Linked DNA regions of Homo sapiens: all the other regions are linked to region 2. Evidence: promoter capture Hi-C in 16 types of primary human blood cells and fetal thymus (Javierre and others, 2016). All regions are on one chromosome and are shown on one strand. Each heading gives the region's core, a stretch centred on a gene start or on the middle of the fragment in contact. The rest is flanking DNA. Distances are from core to core; before and after follow the strand shown.

What was found. The method cuts DNA at HindIII sites, captures the fragments that hold promoters and counts their contacts. A CHiCAGO score of 5 or more calls a contact.
Region 1: a fragment that was not itself captured here is called in contact with the fragment with the promoter of SF3B6 in region 2 in 1 of 17 cell types (endothelial precursors); the score reaches 6.0 in endothelial precursors.
Region 3: a contact is called between a fragment that was not itself captured here and the fragment with the promoter of SF3B6 in region 2, in 3 of 17 cell types (naive B cells, monocytes and M0 macrophages). The highest score is 6.4, in naive B cells.
Region 4: a contact is called between a fragment that was not itself captured here and the fragment with the promoter of SF3B6 in region 2, in 3 of 17 cell types (endothelial precursors, M2 macrophages and M1 macrophages). The highest score is 6.6, in endothelial precursors.
Region 5: a contact is called between a fragment that was not itself captured here and the fragment with the promoter of SF3B6 in region 2, in 13 of 17 cell types (naive B cells, total CD8 T cells, total CD4 T cells and 10 more). The highest score is 10.8, in naive B cells.

Annotation. Positions count from the first base shown.
Region 1 is chr2:24,388,855-24,392,365 of GRCh38, reverse strand. No RefSeq gene overlaps it. Among named protein-coding and RNA genes, the nearest start is that of ITSN2, 30 kb to the right of the region's middle. The HindIII fragment of the contact is 740 bases long and covers 1,133-1,872 here.
Region 2 is chr2:24,074,716-24,078,254 of GRCh38, reverse strand. SF3B6 (splicing factor 3b subunit 6) reads left to right here and starts at 1,929. Exons shown (of 4, transcript NM_016047.4): 1 at 1,929-2,055. The coding sequence starts at 2,026. TP53I3 (tumor protein p53 inducible protein 3) reads left to right here. Exons shown (of 5, transcript NM_004881.5): 5 at 494-822. The coding sequence ends at 676. It also overlaps a transcript of FAM228B not described here. RefSeq lists a silencer at 1,055-1,704 and enhancers at 1,815-2,044, 1,579-2,110, 2,111-2,643. The HindIII fragment of the contact is 6,266 bases long and covers 1-3,539 here.
Region 3 is chr2:23,770,305-23,773,656 of GRCh38, reverse strand. The region is part of intron 22 of ATAD2B (ATPase family AAA domain containing 2B); the gene reads left to right. Among named protein-coding and RNA genes, the nearest start is that of ATAD2B, 160 kb to the left of the region's middle. The HindIII fragment of the contact is 1,473 bases long and covers 1,334-2,806 here.
Region 4 is chr2:24,369,090-24,373,000 of GRCh38, reverse strand. No RefSeq gene overlaps it. Among named protein-coding and RNA genes, the nearest start is that of ITSN2, 11 kb to the right of the region's middle. The HindIII fragment of the contact is 3,412 bases long and covers 527-3,911 here.
Region 5 is chr2:23,790,531-23,793,979 of GRCh38, reverse strand. The region is part of intron 19 of ATAD2B (ATPase family AAA domain containing 2B); the gene reads left to right. Among named protein-coding and RNA genes, the nearest start is that of ATAD2B, 130 kb to the left of the region's middle. The HindIII fragment of the contact is 857 bases long and covers 1,441-2,297 here.

The DNA.
Region 1 (3,511 bases), core at 253-2,752, 310 kb before region 2:
TGTGTAGCTGGGACTACAGGTGTGCACCACAACACCTGGCTAATTTTTTATATTTTTGGCAGGGACAGGGTTTTGCCATGTTGGCCAGGCTGGTCTCGAACTCCTGACCTCAAGTGATCCACCTGCCGCAGCCTCCCAAAGTGCTGGGATTACAGGCACGAACCACCGGCCCCGGCCAGAACTCCTTTTTCAAAGACAGATGGACCTTCTTTCCCACTCCAGCAGAAGACTGACTGTGTGTTAAGAAACTTACAGCATCTAAACATAGGGATACCAGGCATAGCTGAAGGCAATAGGAATTATCAACATTCAGAGGGGTATCACCATTATATTGCTAAGTTTAAGGTTGAACTAGTAATTATTACATAGAAAACTGCTAAAACAACCCACAGGGCAATTATTAATTCTAATATGAATAAAAATTTATCTTATCAGTATTATATTACTTGGCTTAACATTGAGCAAGTGTTATATAGTGAGATAATATAAACAGTATAAATATTGATATAAACAAAAATGTACTACAAATATATTGGGAGTATGAAGAGAGGGAAGGAGGTTTTAAGTGTGCTAAATTTTGTGACTCCATAATAGAACGTCAATAGATAACATATAAATAAAAATATGAGAGGTCAAGCATGGTGGTTCATGCCTGTAATCCCAACACTTTGGAAGGCCGAGGCAGGAGGATCACCTGAGCCCAGGAGTTAGAAACCAGCCTGTTCAACATAGTGAGACCCTGTCTTTACAAAAGAAAAATTAAAAATTAGCTAGGCATAGTGGTGCACAATTGCAGTCCCAGCTACTCAGGAGGTTGAGGTGGGAAGATCACTTGAACCCAGGAGTTCAAGGCCGCAGTGAACCATGATCACGCCACTGCCCTCCAGCCTGTGCAACAGAGAGTGATCCTGTCTCAAAAAAAAAAGTGTGTGTGTATATATGAATATACATATATATGTACATATGAAAATTATGTGTGTATATCTATATATATGAATATTTTTAGAAATATTTTTAGAAAAGTAGATGTAAATAGAAGAAACAGCTGAAAGAATTAAAAGTTTTTCTTCCTGAGGGGCAGGTTTCAGGGTGGAAATGGTGGTATAGTGTTCTACTATTGTCATTACAAGCTTTGTCATTGTGTTAGACTTTTTAAAATTATGTGTATATCTCACTTTGACAAAAATTATTATTATTATTTTTTAGAGACAGGGTCTCACCCAGGCTGGAGGGCAATGGCATGATCATGGCTCACTGCAACTTTGACCTCCTAGGCTCAAGGGGTCCTCCTCCCTCAGCCTCCCAAGTAGCTGGGATCACAGGTGCATGCCACCATATCCAGCGAATTTCTTATTTTTTGTAGAGATGATGTCTGTCTACATTGCCCAGGCTGGTCTCAAACTCCTGGGCCCAAGTGATTTTCCTGCCTCCACCTACCAAAGTGCTGGGATTACAGGCATGAGCCACTGCACCCAACTGGCAAAACTAAAATTGACATTTAAACAAAAGAAGAAAGGGATATATGTATTGCCTACTTAAAACAACAAACAAACAAACCCTTTTGGAGAAATGTGACAGAATCCAAAACTTCTACAAGGTATCTTTTACAATATCCAAGGTACAATCTGAAATTACTAGACATAAAAATGAAATGTGACCCCAGTACTCAAGAGTCTGATGCTGACATGCATCAAATGTTGAGTTATAACAAAGACTTTAAAGCAGCTATTAAAATTGTGCCAAACAGAGTACATATATAAAGGAAAATATTACTCATAATTAATGAAAGAAAATACAAGCAGAGAAATAAAAACTATAGTAACCAAATGTAAATTATACAATTGAAAAGTTTAATATCTGAAATTTAAAGCTTTACTGGACAGGCTTAGAAGCAGATTGAAGGTGACAGGAGAAAAAAGTCAGAAAACTTGATGAGAAATCAATAAAAATTACTCAATCTAAGTAACAGACAGAAAATGGATGGGAGAGGGCGGGAATGAATAGACTCTCAGGAAACTGAGGGGAAATAGCAAAAGAGCTAAAATATGTGTAACTGGAGTCTCAGAAGTAAGGAAGAGAATATGGGACAGAAAAATTATTTTGAAGAAAAAGAGGTTGAAATTTTCTAAATAGGTTGAAAGATAAATTTATAGATTTAAGAAGCTAAGTAACCCTCTCCCCACCAAAAAAAAAAATATGAAGAAAACCATACCTGCACACAGTATAGTCAAAATGCTGAAAACCAAAGATAAAGAGAAAATCTTGAAAGCCAGAGAAAACAACTCACTATATGCAGGGAATGATGATACAAATGAATGCTGTTTCTTCTTATAAATAATAGATATCAGAAGACAGTGAAACAATATCTTCAAGTATAGGATCAGAAAAAAGTAAATCAATCCAGAATTCTATAGCCAGCAAAACATCCTTTAAGAATGAAGGCAGCCGGGTGTGGTAGCTCACGCCTGTAACCCAGCACTTTAGGAGGCCGAGGCAGGTGGATCACCTGAGGTCAGGAGTTTGAGACCAGCCTGGCCAACATGGTGAAACCCCGTCTATACTAAAAATATAAAAATTAGCTGGGCATGGTGGCAGGTGCCTGTAATCCCAGCTACTCGGGAGGCTGAGGCAGGAGAATCACTTGAACCCGGGAGACAGAGGTTTCAGTGAGCCAAGATAGCGCCACTGCAGTCCAGCCTGAGCGACACAGCAAGACTCCGTCTCAAAAAAAAAAAAAAAAAGAAGGCAAAATGAAAAGAAAAGGAGGGGAACATCACTAATCATTAGGGGATTGCAAATCAAAACTACAGTGAGATACCACTTCACACTATTAGGATGGCTACTCTAAACAAAACAAACTCCAGGATTGGACATAGTGGCTCAAGCCAGTAATCCTAGCATTTTGGGAGGCTGCAGCAGGCAGATCCCTTGAGCTCAGGAGTTTGAGACCAGCCTGAACAACATGGCTAAACTCCATCTCATTTTTAAAACTATATAAATAAATAAACTCCAGAAAATAGCAAGCATTGTCGAGGATGTGGAGAAATTGGAATCCTTGTGCACTGTTGGTGGGAATGTGAAATGGTGAAGCTGCTGCAGAAAACAGTTACGGTGGTTCCTCAAAAATTAAAAATGGGGCTGGGCACGGTGGCTCATGCCTGTAATGCCAACACTTTGGGAGGCTGAGGTGGGCCGATCACTTGAGGCCAGGAGTTCAAGTCCAGCCTGGCCAACATGGCAAAACCCCATCTCTACCAAAAATACAAAAATTAGCTGGGCATGATGGCACATGCCTATAATCCCAGCTACTCGGGAGGCTGAGGCACAAGAATTTCTTGAACCTGGGAGGTGGAGGTTGCAGTGAGCCAAGATCATGCCACTGTACTCCAGCCTTGGTGATAGAGCAAGACTCCATCTCAAAAAAAAATTAAAAATTAAAAATGTAATTTGCATATGATTCATCAATTTCACTTTTGGGTATATTCTCAAAAGAATTGAAAGTAGGGTCTTG
Region 2 (3,539 bases), core at 680-3,179:
AATAAGACAAAATCTGGCTAGGGATAGTAAATTTCTAGGGAAGTCACTAGGAGATATATGGGGGTGGGGGGTGTAAAACTAGTGGAAGATAAGGGTTACTTCCTTAAGTGTATTTATTCAGTTCCATTGCAGCCCCGTTTCCAGTCTCTGGTGATAAGGGCTTTTTGCCCTAGTATGGGGAGGGTACCCCTCTCAGAGGAATCTTTATGACTTGCTACATGCAAGAAGAGACAGGTCAGCTAGCCTTTTCTGAAACTACAATTTCTCCAATGCTTTCACCTCAAAATTAACAATATACCTATCGGACATATTCTGAGATGGCACATGACTCCTTCAAGGGTATTTCACACACATGCTAGGAAGTGAGGGGTTAAGTGTCCCTGTGTGCTTTTTCAGATACGTGGCTTCAGAGAGAGCAAGAAGGCTGAGGAGGATGAGGAGGGCAGGGTGAGGCTCTCTCCCCAGGCTGATGATCTCCTTTCCCTTGTCTTAGTACAAGCAAATGCTGGTGAATGCTTTCACGGAGCAAATTCTGCCTCACTTCTCCACGGAGGGCCCCCAACGTCTGCTGCCGGTTCTGGACAGAATCTACCCAGTGACCGAAATCCAGGAGGCCCATAAGTACATGGAGGCCAACAAGAACATAGGCAAGATCGTCCTGGAACTGCCCCAGTGAAGGAGGATGGGGCAGGACAGGACGCGGCCACCCCAGGCCTTTCCAGAGCAAACCTGGAGAAGATTCACAATAGACAGGCCAAGAAACCCGGTGCTTCCTCCAGAGCCGTTTAAAGCTGATATGAGGAAATAAAGAGTGAACTGGAAGGGTGGCACGCGGACTGGGGCCGCCGCGGCGGGGTTGAGGTGGGAGTCCGGACGGGCGTCGCAGCGGGGATTACTGAGGCCCGATCAGCTGACGCTCAACCTGAGGGCCCCTCCAGGGACGGAGATTCTGGGTATAGTTACAGCGTCAGCCGTGACACAAGCCGCCAGAACCCCACATATTCCGCCTTGCGCACAGCTAGAGGCCCAGGCCCACCACCTCCGGCACCTGCCCGCGCGCCCCGCAACCAGTGGGCACCACAGCAGGCCCCAGCCCTGCCCGCTACTCACCTGGGCCCCACCCCACCTCTCGCCGCCCTCCTCAGGCCCCACCACCTCCCGCTACACATCTGAGCCCCGCCCCACCTCCACCACTTTCCTCAGCCCCAACCACCTCCTGCTACACTTCTGGGCCCCGCCGCACCTCCACCACCCTCCTCAGGCCCCGATCCCTTCCGCTACTCACCTGGGTCCCGCCCCAGCTCAGTCCTCCTCAGGCCCCGCCTTCGCCCGCTACTCACCTGGGCCCCACCCCACCTCTCGCCACCCTCCTCAGGCCCCACCACCTCCCGCTACACATCTGGGCCCCGCCCCACCGCCACCACCCTCCTCAGGCCCCGCCCCTTCCATTACTCACTTGGGTCCCGCCCCAGCTCACCGCCTTGCTCAGGCCCGGCTCCCTCCCGGATACTCACTTGGGCCCCACCCCAGCTCTCCGCACCCTCCTCAGGCCCCGCCCCCTCCCGCTACTCACCTGGGTCCCGCCCTACCTGTCATAACCCTGCTCAAGCCCCGCCTCCTCCGCTCCCCAGTTACTCACCTGAGACCCGCCCCAGCTCTCCGCCCTCCTCAGGCCCCGCCCTCTCCACCCGGGTTCCTCTGCTCAGGGCCTCCCCGACCGGAACATCTCGCCTTTTGGAGGCTACGCCCCGCCCTTTACGGTACAGAGCCCGGAAGTGTCTTGGACTCTCGCCTTTCCATCTTCCGGCCTCGAGTCTCGCTCAGGCTCGGTTTTACCCCGGAGTCTATTCGAAGGGGGCTGCTACGTCAGCGCGTCTCAGCGTAAGACGGCGCTATTCCGCTGTAACAGCTTCCGGCGGGTCCTGGATGTTGATGTCCTGCATCTAACGCGGTGTAACCCCCGAAGCCGAGCGAGCTCCGGAGGAATTTCAGTATCTGCTACGGTAACTTCATCAGCCCGCCAAGATGGCGATGCAAGCGGCCAAGAGGGCGAACGTGAGTATCGGGTGTTCTGCGGAGGGTGGGAGAACTTCGGGTTTGACTTTCTTAGCGGCGTGGATCGGAGCATTCTTGCTCCTCCTCCGTCCCCAGAGCGGAGAACTCCAGAATTCCTATCCTGTCAGCGAAGACACTATCCGGCCCCATCCTCAGAGATATGCTCCTTGAGCCACATTTCTGTCCCCACCCCTTTTGAGAGTTCCTCAGTCTCTACCCTAGTGTCAGTGATAGTGTTACCCCTATAGCCTCTTTGCTTGACCCGCACCTAAGGACCTGGCGTTAGGATTATCTCCTTGACTTAAAGTCGATATCTCAGAAGAGTCCTCAACTAACTTAATGGTTCACCAACAACTAGGACCTGGGATTCCCCTCAGATCATGGTGCTTTTCGGATCCTTCATTAACACATTAATTAAAACAATATTTTTTGAGCACCTACTATGTATTCTGCTTGCCATGTGGGACATAATTCATCAATTATATTTATTGAATAGCTACTATGTGCCAGACACTAGTCTTACGTATTGGGAATACAGCAGTGAATAAAACAAGTCCTTCTGCTTACATTCTAGTGTTTGAGAGTACAGTGTTACGGAAACTTTTAAAAAAAAAAAACTCAAAAAAGAGATTAGTCAACAGTAAAACGCTTAGAGGTGTAAGATGAAGTTAGGCCGAGTGAGGTGGCTCATGCCTGTAATCCCCGCACTTTTGGAGGCTGAGGTGGGAGGATTGCTTGAGCCCAGGAATTCAAGGCTGCCTTGAGCCATGATTGTGCCACTGCGCAGCACTTCAGCCCAGGAGACAGAGCAAGACCCTGACTCAAAAAAAAAAAAAAAAACAGAAAGAAAGAAAGAAAGAAAGAAAAGACAAGCAATTGACCATTGTATATGTAAATGGAGACTTTTGGTGACCTTGATGATAGGAATCATTTCAGTGGATGAAAACTTGATTGCAGTGGGGTGAAAAGATGGTGGAAGTTGAGAAAATGGAAACAGCAAAGACACTCTGTCCATGAGTTCTCATTTAAATAGGAAGTAGGGAAATTGGATGATAGTTGACTTTTTTTTTTGAGATGGACTCTCACTCTGTCACCCAGGCTGGAGTGCAGTGGCACAGTCTTGGCTCACTGCAACCTCTGTCTCCTGAGTTCAAGCAATTCTCCTGCCTCAGCCTCTTGAGTAGCTGGGATTACAGGTGCCCACCACCATGCCCGGCTAATTTTTGTATTTTTAGTAGAGACAGGGTTTCTCCGTGTTGGCCAGGCTGGTCTCAAACTCCTGACCTCAAGTGATCCACCTGCCTTGGCCTCCCAAAACGCTGGGATTACAGGCATGAGCCACCGCACCCGGCCAGATAGTTGACTTTTTAAAAGATGTGTGATATAGGTGTATCTTTATGCCAATGGGAGCAATCCAGCAGAGTGTGCGAAACATGATATGGAAGAAAGATAGGTTGAGTTTAGAAGTGAAGGTTTTGAGTAGA
Region 3 (3,352 bases), core at 821-3,320, 300 kb after region 2:
ATAAATATATAGTTTCTATTCCCACACAATTTTAAACCTAGAGTTTTAAGTGATGAGTGAGTCTCTGAATCCACAAACAAAATTATATTCATGTGCAGTTTTCAACTTTTATTCTATTCTTTTTTTCCCTCCCGCAAGAGGGGGTCTCACTCTGTTGCCTAGTCTGGAATGCAGTGGTGCGATCATGGCTTACTGTAGCCATCATAGCTGACTTGAGACATCGACCTCCCTGGCTCAAGTAATCTTCCCACTTCAGTCTCCTGAATAGCCGGGACCACATGAGCCACCAAGCCTGTCTAACTTTTTAATTTTTTGCAGAGATGGGGTCTCCCTATGTTGCTCAGGCTTGTCTGAAACTCCTGGCCTCAAGCAATCCTCCTGCCTCAGTCTCCCAAAGTGTTGAGATTACAGATGTGAGCCAACATGCCCAACCATGTTCTGTTCTTATATGAATCCAGGTCAAAAAGATTAAGAACCTAGGATTATCATAGACATCCCTTCTACTTTGAATATTCTTCTAAGTTTGTGATTATATGCTATGTATAATCTTAGACAATCTTCTAAACAATGATTGAAAAGAATTATAATGATAGGCACATGAAAAAGCAATGCCTTGGCCCGGCACAGTGGCCCACACCTGTAATCCCAGCACTTTGGGAGACCGAGGTAGGCAGATCGCTTGAGCCCAGGAATGTGAGGCCAGTGTGAAACCTGGGCATGGCAAGACACCATCTCTACAAAAAGTACAAAAATTAGCCAGGCGTGGTGGCGCATGCTTGTGGTCCTATTAATAGCTGCTCGGGGCACTGAGGCAGAGAGGACTGTTTGAGGCCAGGAGGTTGACGCTGCTATAAGGCATGATCATGCCACTGCACTCTAGCTTGGGTGACAGAGTGAGACCTTGTCCCCCACCCCCATCCCCCCAAAAAAGCAGTGTTCCCTCTCAAATGCAGATTTTTTTAAAAGAATATATTCCTTGTCTTCCATACTAGTGGGAAATTTTTATGGATTTTTTTTCTTCATTTATTCTTTTTTCTTGCTTAATTTAGGGTAGTGTTGGGATAGAAGATACACTTTATAAAAAGCAGAAAGACCAATCATTGAGTTATTTTAGAGACAATATGCCAGATCCATACCTTTAGATTTAATCTTACCTTTTTTTTTAGTTTCTCTTCATTCAAGCCGAGGTAGAAAGCCAGTGGTGGAAAGCTGTGGTATTGCATAGGCTACAAACATTGTATTGTCAACTTGAAAGTATAGCTACTTCTAAGGATGTTGATGTTCATTGTAGTTTTTTATTTATAGTAGCTAAAATTAGAAGCAACTTAAAGCTTCCAAAAAGAGAACAATACTTTTGAAAAATTAAGGCACATCCTACTTTGGATTGTTGCACAACTATTAAAGTTTGGTTTTCAAAGAGTGTTTAAAAGACACCAGGAGACTTCTTCTTTTCTTCTTCTGGCCAAGATGAAGTAAAAGGGACTCGATTTATTTACCCCCTCACATGACACAATGAAAAAAAAAATGAACAAAATATATTTAAAGAAAAACTGTTTGGAAGGCATTGGACACCAGGCAACACAGGACAGTGATTCCCAAAAGATAGAAACAAATAAGAGGAGTAGTGTGGTTGCCTGGAGACAATTTCCAGATACCAGCCCCAGGAGGAGCAGCCCAGGCATATTCTGGAGGTCCTCTGAACTGGGGAGCCAGACCTGGAATCTGAAGAGGCCACAGTGGTTTGGGTTTGCAGGGCAGATTACCAGAAAGAAGAAAGCTGCACAGAGAGAACACTCTGGCTATCTCCAGGAGGTCCTACCCTAGTGTTTAACTAAGTACTGGTTAGTGCATATGTGTGAGAAAACTATCTGAGGCCAGAGAAGGAGAGGGAATATTCCTTAAAGTTCACACAGGGGCCGCAATAGAGTTAGAGCTAATAAACCAACAAGGAGATAAAATGGAATCATAAAAAGGTATACAGTAATTCCAAGAGAAGTGAGAAAAAGAGGAAAAAGGGAACAAAAAACATATAGGCCAAGTAGAAAATAAATAGCAACCATATCAATAATCACATACATCACATTAAAAGTAGATGCTCTAAACCAGGGGTCAGCAGACTATCATCAAGCTGACAGCCTGTTTTTGTAAGTCAAATTTTTTTACTGGAACAAAATTATTCCCCCTATCCCCGCTTTTCAGTTCAGTGATAAATGATGTCTACAAAAAGCCTACATTTCTCATCATACTAGTGATGAAAGAGTAAGTACTTTCTCCTTAAGATCAGAAACATGACCAGGATGTCTGCTCTTACCACTTCTATCAACATTAAACTGGAGCTTTCAGCCAATGCAGTAAGGTAAGAAAAAGAAATAAAGGCATCCCTACTTCCAGAAAGAAAGAAGTAAACCTGTTGTTGTTTGTAGACGTATGATGTCTACATAGAAAATCCTATGGAATATTTAAAGAAGTTATTAGAACATGTAAGTGAAGTTAGGGTTGCAGGAGACAGGATCAGCATGTAAAACACTTGTTTTTCTATATACTAGCAACAAACAGGAAATTGAAATAACATCAAAAAATAACATGAAATATAGATAAATCTGACAAAAGGCATGTAAGACTTATACATTGAAAACTATAAAATATTAGTGAGATAAAGAAGACCCAAATAAATGGAGATATATGTCATGGCTTATGGATTGGAAGACTCAACATTATGAAAATGTAATTTCTCTCCAGATTGAACCACAGGTTCAACACCATCCTATCAGAATTCCAGCAGGCATTTGATAGAAATTGACAAGCTTATTCTAAAATTCATATGAGGATGAAAAGGACCTAGAGTCAAAACAACTTTGGAAAATAAAAACAGCTGGAAGACTTAATACTACTTTATTGTAAGACTTAAAAAGTTACAGTAATCTAGACAGTGTATGTTGGCATGAAGTTTGACAAATAGGTCAATGGAATAGGATAGAGTCCTGAAATAGATGCACACATAGAGGGTCAATTGCTTTTTGACAAAGATGTAAAGTCAGTTCAATGAAGAAAGTAGATTAAATTTCAATAGACAGTGTTGGAACAATTGGATATCAGCATGCAAAAAAAGACTTTGTATGCAGAAGTTGACTCACAATGGATCACATACCTGTATACAAGAACTTAAAACCTATAGCCAGAATATTAAGTCTCAGAATTTAATAATAACCCAATTTAAATAATGGACATAAGAGCTGAAGACACTTTACCAAATAAGATATACAGAAGACAAATACACACATGAAAAGATACTCATCCTCATTAATCTTTTTATTTATTTATTTATTTGTTTATTTATTTTTTGGAGACAGAG
Region 4 (3,911 bases), core at 983-3,482, 290 kb before region 2:
AACACTGATCATGATCTTATTTTCTTAATTTCCCATCCTAAAAGGGATTTTTTTTCTTTTTTTTTTTTTTTTCGGAGACAGAGTCTCACTCTGTCACCCGGGCTTGAGCACTGTGGTGAGATCTCAGCTCTCTGCAACCTCTGCCTCCCAGGCTGAAGCCATCCTCCTCCCTCAGCCTTCGGAGTAGCTGGGACTGCAGGAATGTGCCACCATGCCAGGCTAATTTTTGTATTGTTTGTAGAGATGAAATTTCACCATGTTGCCTAGGCTGGTCTTGAACTCCTAAGCTCAAGTGATCTACTCAGGTTGGCCTCCCAAAGTGCTGGGATTACAAGGCATGAGCCACCATGTCCAGTGCAACAAACTTACATATTAAATGCAGTTTTTTAAAATTAGGGAAAAAAAAATCCAAGTCAGGAATAGGGGGTGGGATAATAAAATCTGGTGGGAATTTGGTGAAGAAGTTGAGAACAACCACATAAGGCCTTCAGGAACTGCTTACTTGCTTCTCAGTCAGGATCAAGCTTGGGCAAAATTCTCATCACAAGTATAAAACTAAGCTCCTATCATATAAATTGGAAGATACCTGGCACAGCTCTCTCCCTTGAGATGGTCACAAAGTAGTTGACACTTGGCTGTAGCTTTCTCGGTTGCCGCCTTACCCACCTAGAGTTTCCATGATAGGAACCCAAGTCTACACAGTCTACTCTACATCCTGGGTTCTAATGAACACCCAAAAAGGGTGCTGCAAAAGGGGCACCCAAAAAAGCAAAGTAAGCACATTCTCCTGGGCCTGGCCAAGCAAGGGCAGGCCTAGAGCATACCTGTCTGCACATTTGCATACACACACACACACACATAGTTATTTAGAAATAATTCCACATTTTTATAAAAAATGTGTTGAGGGCCGGGCGCGGTGGCTCACGCCCGTAATCCCAACACTTTGGGAGGCCAAGGCTGATGGATCACGAGGTCAGGAGATTGAGACCATCCTGGCTAACACGGTGAAACCCCGTCTCTACTAAAATTACAAAAAATTAGCTGGGTGTGGTGGCAGGTGCCTGTAGTCCCAGCTACTTGGGAGGCTGAGGCAGGAGAATGGCTTGAACCCGAGAGGTGGAGCTTGCAGTGAGCTGACATGTGCCACTGCACTTCAGCCTGGGCGACAGAGCAAGACTCTGTCTCAAAAAAAAACAAAAACAAAAAACAATGTGTTGAACTGGGCGCAGTGGCTCACATCTGTAATCCCAGCACTTTGGGAGCCCGAGGCGGGCGGATCACAAGGTCAAGAGATCGAGGCCATCCTGGCCAACATGGTGAAACCCTGTCTCTACTAAAAATACAAAAATTAGCTGGGCGTGGTGGCACATGCCTGTAGTCCTAGCTACTCAGGAGGCTGAGGCAGGAGAATCACTCGAACCTGGGAGGGAGAGGTTGCAGTGAGCCAAGACTGCGCCACTGCATTCCAGCCTGGTGACAGAGTGAGACTCTATCTCAAAAAAAAAAAAAAAAAAGTGTTGAAATAGTTATCAAGCAATTTTTTTGTTTTTGTTTTTGGGTTTTGAGACAACGTCTTGCTCTGTTGCCCAGGCTGGAGTTCAGTGACATGATCCTGACCCATTGCAACCTTGAATTTCTGGGCTCAAGCCATCCTCCTGCCTCAGCCTCCCAAGTAGCTGGGACTACAGACACACATCACTACACCTGGCTAAGTTATTTCATGTTTTTCTTTTTATTTAATTTCATACATGGGTGTTTCAGCGTTTAGGGCTTCTAAACACTGAATCCAATCTTGATGATACCAATTCCAGTATTTTTACAACTTGTTTGTTTTTGAGACAGGGTCTGGCTCTGTCCGTCAGGCTGGAGTTGCAGTGGTGTGATCACTGCTCACTGCAACCTCCGCCTCCTGAGCTCAAACCATCCTCCTACCTCATCCTTCCAGGTGGCTGGGACTACAGGCACATGCCATCACGTCCAGCTAATTTTTTTTTTTTTTTGTAGCGATGGGATTTCACCATGTTGTCCAGGCTGGTCTTGAATTCCTGTGCTCAAGTGATCCACCTGCCTTGGCCTCCCAAAGTGCTAGGATTACAGGTGTGAGCCACTGTGCCCAGCCTTTTACAGTTTTTAAATTAGAATCACATGATGTTCATGTTCATTAGGCAATTTATATTTGTGTATTCTAAATTTCAACATGTCTCAGCCATGGGATACATTCCTGACTCATTTAAGAAGCTATGAAAAGCGTTCATCAGACACCAAAATAGCTCTTAAAGTTAATTATACTTAGAGTCAGGATTTTGTGCCAAACACTCAATACCCAACCATTAATTATTATTTTCTAAATATTGAGAGTGTAGTATAAGCTGATAAGTACATGTCAAAACCTGGTCCCTGCCCCAAGGCTTACCCTATAAATGACAAAACTGAATCCATTTAGACTACACACTACATCAAATTAAAAGCAAGGCTAACTTGAAAGGCACAAAGTTCAAGGTCCTTTCTTTTTCTTTTTTTTTTTTTTGAGACAGAGTCTCCCTCTGTTGCCCAGGCTGGAGTGCAGTGCCGCGATCTCGGCTCACTGCAACCTCCGCCTCCCAGGTTCAAGTGATTCTCCTGCCTCAGCCTCCCAAGTAGCTGGGATTACAGGCAGCCACCACCACGCCTGGCTAATTTTTGTATTTTTCGTAGAAATGGAGTTTCACCATATTGGCCAGGCTGATCTTGAACTCCCAACCTCAGGTAATCCACCCGCCTCGGTCTCCCAAAGTGCTGGGATTACAGGCACGAGCTAGTGCACCCGGCCAGTTCTTTCTGTAAATCCCTAAGAAGTTACTATAATTCTAACCAGAATTTTTTGATTTGAAGGTAGAATTTTATATTTTTAATCTTCTAACAATGACATTGCTGCTGTTCCAGGAAAGAACATTGAACTTAAGAAGACAATGCTAGAGTTGTAATACAATTTCAGTTACGCTCTCCTGTTGTTCCAAATGACAAAATCCAATAGTAAAAGAAAGCCCTTTGCTATCACCTAGATTCTTCCTAAGCATCTAAAGGAAGTAAAATATATCAATCCATCTTAGCTGGGTGTGGTGGCATGTACCTGTAGTCCCAGTTACTCGGGAGGCTGAGGCAGAAGAATTGCTTGAACCCGGGAGGTGGAGGTTGCAGTGAGCCGAGATCGCACCACTGCACTCCAGCCCGGGCGACAGAGCGAGACTCCATCTCAAAAAAAAAAGAGTGATCTGCCAGGCGTGATGGCTCATGCCTGTAATCCCAGCACTTTGGGGGGCTGGCAGGAGGGTTGCTAGAGTACAGGAGTTTTAGACCAGCCTGGGCAACATGTAGAAAAAAAAAATTAGCCAGGCATGGTGGCACTCACCTGCAGTCCCAGCTACTTGGGAGGCTAAGTTGGGGGAGGATCACTTGAGTGTGGGAGGTTGAGACTGCTGTGAGCCATGATCTCACGACTGTACTTGAGGCTGGGTGACAGAATGAGATGGTGTCTCAAAAAAAAAAAAAAAATTATCTGTGCTCCACTATACATCCCACCCTCTCTCTATTGAGAAGATGAAGCACAAGTGCAGAGGTGAGACAGAGAGGGTCCCTGGACAGTGTTCAGTCCCTAATTCCATTTTGCCTGGCCCCACTCCTGTCCTTGGTGACACTGGCACACTCCACTTACCTTGTATATAATTAATTCTTTTTTTGCCTAAGCCCTTTGAGTTGATCCCCGTTATTTGCAACCAAACATTTTAACTGATACAAATACCTGGTCACTTACATACGAAATTAAGAGTTTTATGTTTCCCTATACAAAGGCATAAGAAAAGCACCTGCTGAAATTATTGAAATGGGAAGTGAGGCTTATTCCTTTTTGAAACACATGAAAAAAAAATCTCACC
Region 5 (3,449 bases), core at 620-3,119, 280 kb after region 2:
TTTTATGTTCTTTCTATATTTTGGAAAAATATATTTTTCAAAAGAATATATGTTTTATTCTTTTAATGTTAGTGTTAATATCTAATGGGCTTATTTAAAATCTGTAAATATTGATGCATATAGCTCACATACATAAAAGCTTTTTTGGGGTCCTGAGACCAAAAAGTTTGTGCACCTCTGGTCTCTAGACCACTAGCACTTTCAGGTGTTACTGGCCATCATTTCTCCCATTCCTAGCACAGTGCTAACACATTGGAATTACTCTGTAAAAGTTTGCTGCATGAAAAAAGGAACTAACAGTTGAATCATCACGTAGGATTTAAGTAACCCTTGCCCAGCCTCACTCGCTTTCTGCATAATTCTTTCTTTTAAAATATTTTTTCTTTAAATTTTTGACCACTTGAGAACCATGCAGAATTGTAGTGTAAGTAAATTTACTTTTATAAACCCTTTCTGAAGATACTTGGAGAATTTTATTTGAGATATATGGGAATTGCAAGGTATTTATGGAGAATTAGAGAAGAGAGTTAATTTAAGGTTGAGCACAGAAAAAAGACTCTTAAGGGAGGAAGCAAATAAATTAGAGATATTTGTAGGAAGGAATGTAAACCTTGGCCAGAATTGTATTTCTGTTTCTGAAGACATTCACAGTATCTGCTTTGTTATTAAATTATTATGAGCAGGTTTAAGATTATATAATTCAGTATATTGGAAATGAATTTTAAAGAAATATTCCTCAGCTATGCTGATGAAAGTAAGATTACATATAGCATTTTGTTATCTTAAATGTTTCTTGTCATTGTCTCTCTAGGTTTATGGTAGGACCTGGGAGGGGAAAATCAGTAACTTCAATTAGAAAAATCAAGTAGGGGCATTGAAAACTCAGATTAATGATCATAAGATACAAGGGAACTGTTTTAATATTAATATTTTGGTAATAAAACAATTACGTGATTCTTAAAATTTAAGAGGAAGGAAATCTTCTCAAGTTTTTTTTTTTTTTTTTTTTTTTTTTTTGAGACAGAGTCTCTCGCTGTTGCCCAGGCTGGAGTGCAGTGGCACAATCTCGGCTCACTGCAAGCTCTGCCTCCCGGGTTCACGCCATTCTTCTGCCTAAGCCTCCTGGAGTAGCTGGGACTAAAGGCGCCCGCCACCACGCCCAGCTAATTTTTTGTATTTTTAGTAGAGAAGGGATTTCACTGTGTTAGCCAGTATGGTCTTGATCTCCTGACTTCGTGATCCACCCACCTCAGCCTCCCAAAGTGTTGGGATTACAGGTGTGAGCCACCGTGCCCGGCCACAAGTTTTTTTTCCCTAAGTGAAATAGGATAGTAGGTAAACATAGTTACTATTTTGAGATATGTAAACTATTTCTATTTTTATTTAATGGGTTGATATCCTATTTTGTTTTGAGCAAAGCAAATTTTATTTATGAAAGCTTTCTTAGGTTTATTTCTGACCTCTTTTTCACACCTTTTGTTATTGAGATCTTAAGTTCTTTTTTTTTTTTTTAGATCTTAAGTTCTTAACCATTAATTTTTCTTATTACAAAGGTTGCAGGAACCCTACCTTCAAAACTGGGGACTAACAATTCTAAGGAATGTGTTAATAAATTCGATAAAACAAAAAGGTTGGCCAGGTGCCATAGCTCATGCCTGTAATCCCAGCACTTTGGGAGGCTGAGGCTGGTGGATCACGAGGTCAGGAGATCGAGACCATCCTGGCCAACGTAGTGAAACCCCGTCTCTACTAAAAATACAAAAATTAGGCTGGGCGTGGTGGCACGCTGCTTGGGAGACTGAGGCAGGAGAATGGCGTGAACCCAGGAGGCGGAGCTTGCAGTGAGCCGAGATTGCACCACTGCACTCCAGCCTGGGCGACAGAGCAAGACTCCGTCTCAAAAAAAAAAAAAGATGGCTGTTATTAAAAAAAAACAGAAATTAACAAATGTTGATGAGGATGTGGAAAAAGGAGAACCTTTTTGCATTGCTGGTGGGAATGTAAAATTGTATAGCCACTGTGGAAAACAGTATGACATTATCTTAAATATATAAATGCCATATGATCCAGCCAATCAAGTTCTAGGTACTTACTCAAAAGAATTGAAAGCAGGGACTTGAACAGGTATTTGCACACCCATGTTCACAACAGCATCATTCATAGTAACCAAAAGGTGGAAACATCCTCAGTGTCCATTGATAGTTGAAAGGATAAACAAAATGTAGCATATACAATGGAACATTATTTAGCCTTAAAAAGGAGAAAATTTTGATGCATGTTGTAACATGGATGAAGCTTGAAGACATTATGCTAACTTAGTCATAGGACAAATTTTGTATAATTCCTTTTATATGAGGTTCCTTAGAGTATATGTAAATGGATGATAAGTGTATGAAAAGATGCTCATTATCAGTCATTCAGGAATGAAATACCACTGCAACCCACTAAAATATAGGTTGGGCAAGAGTAATTGCGTTTTTTGCCATTGAAAGCTGCAAAAAAAAAAAAAAAGTGCTTTTGCACCAACCTAATAGCTGTAATCAAAAATAAAGAATACCAAGTATTGGCAAGGATATAGAAACTGGAGTCCTTATATACTGCTGGTGGGATTGTAAAATGGTGCAGCCACTTTCCAAAGTTAAACATAAATTTATGGTATGACTCAGCAATTCCACTCCTAGTTATCTACACAAAAGAAATGAAAACATACTTTCACAGAAAGACATTTGTATGGGAATGTTTCTAGTTGTTGTACTCATACTAGCAAAAAGTGGAAACAATCCAAATGTTCCTTAATTGGTGAATGGCTAAACAAAATGTGATGAAATACTATTCAGCAATAAATGGAATGAAATACTAATACATACTACAACTTGGAAAAACCTGAAGTTTTAAGTGACAGAAGCCAGGCATAAAAGACTGTCAGTTGTATGATACAAAATGTCTAGAAGAGGCAATTCTCTAGAGACAGAAAGCATTATCAGTGGTTGTTAGGCTGGGACATGGGAGTGGGAGTGGGGATTGACTGCAGATAGGCCTGAGGAAACTTTTTGGGGTAATGGAAATGTTCTAAAATGTGCTTGTGATGGCTACACATCTGTAAAAATTTACTGAACATTATTGAACTGTTTTTTCAGAAATATTGGAAGGTGTGCCTAAGTGCATCTGGGAAAGTTAGGGAAGGCATCACACAGAAAGCATCAGCTTGAGTGGTGCATTAAAGAAGGGGTCAGGAATGAGTGAATACTATGTATCACAACCAGTGTGAACCAATGTGAAACAGAGCGTGATTTGTTCTGGGAATTATGGAAGGCTTGTCTTTGGTACACCATGAAGTTTGAGGCTAGGACTGTCAGAAGATAAAGTTAGGAGTGAACTTAGAGAAGTATAATTTATCCCACTTATAAAATGTTGGATTCTAAGGTGTTGGTAGTAACCTGGTAAGAATA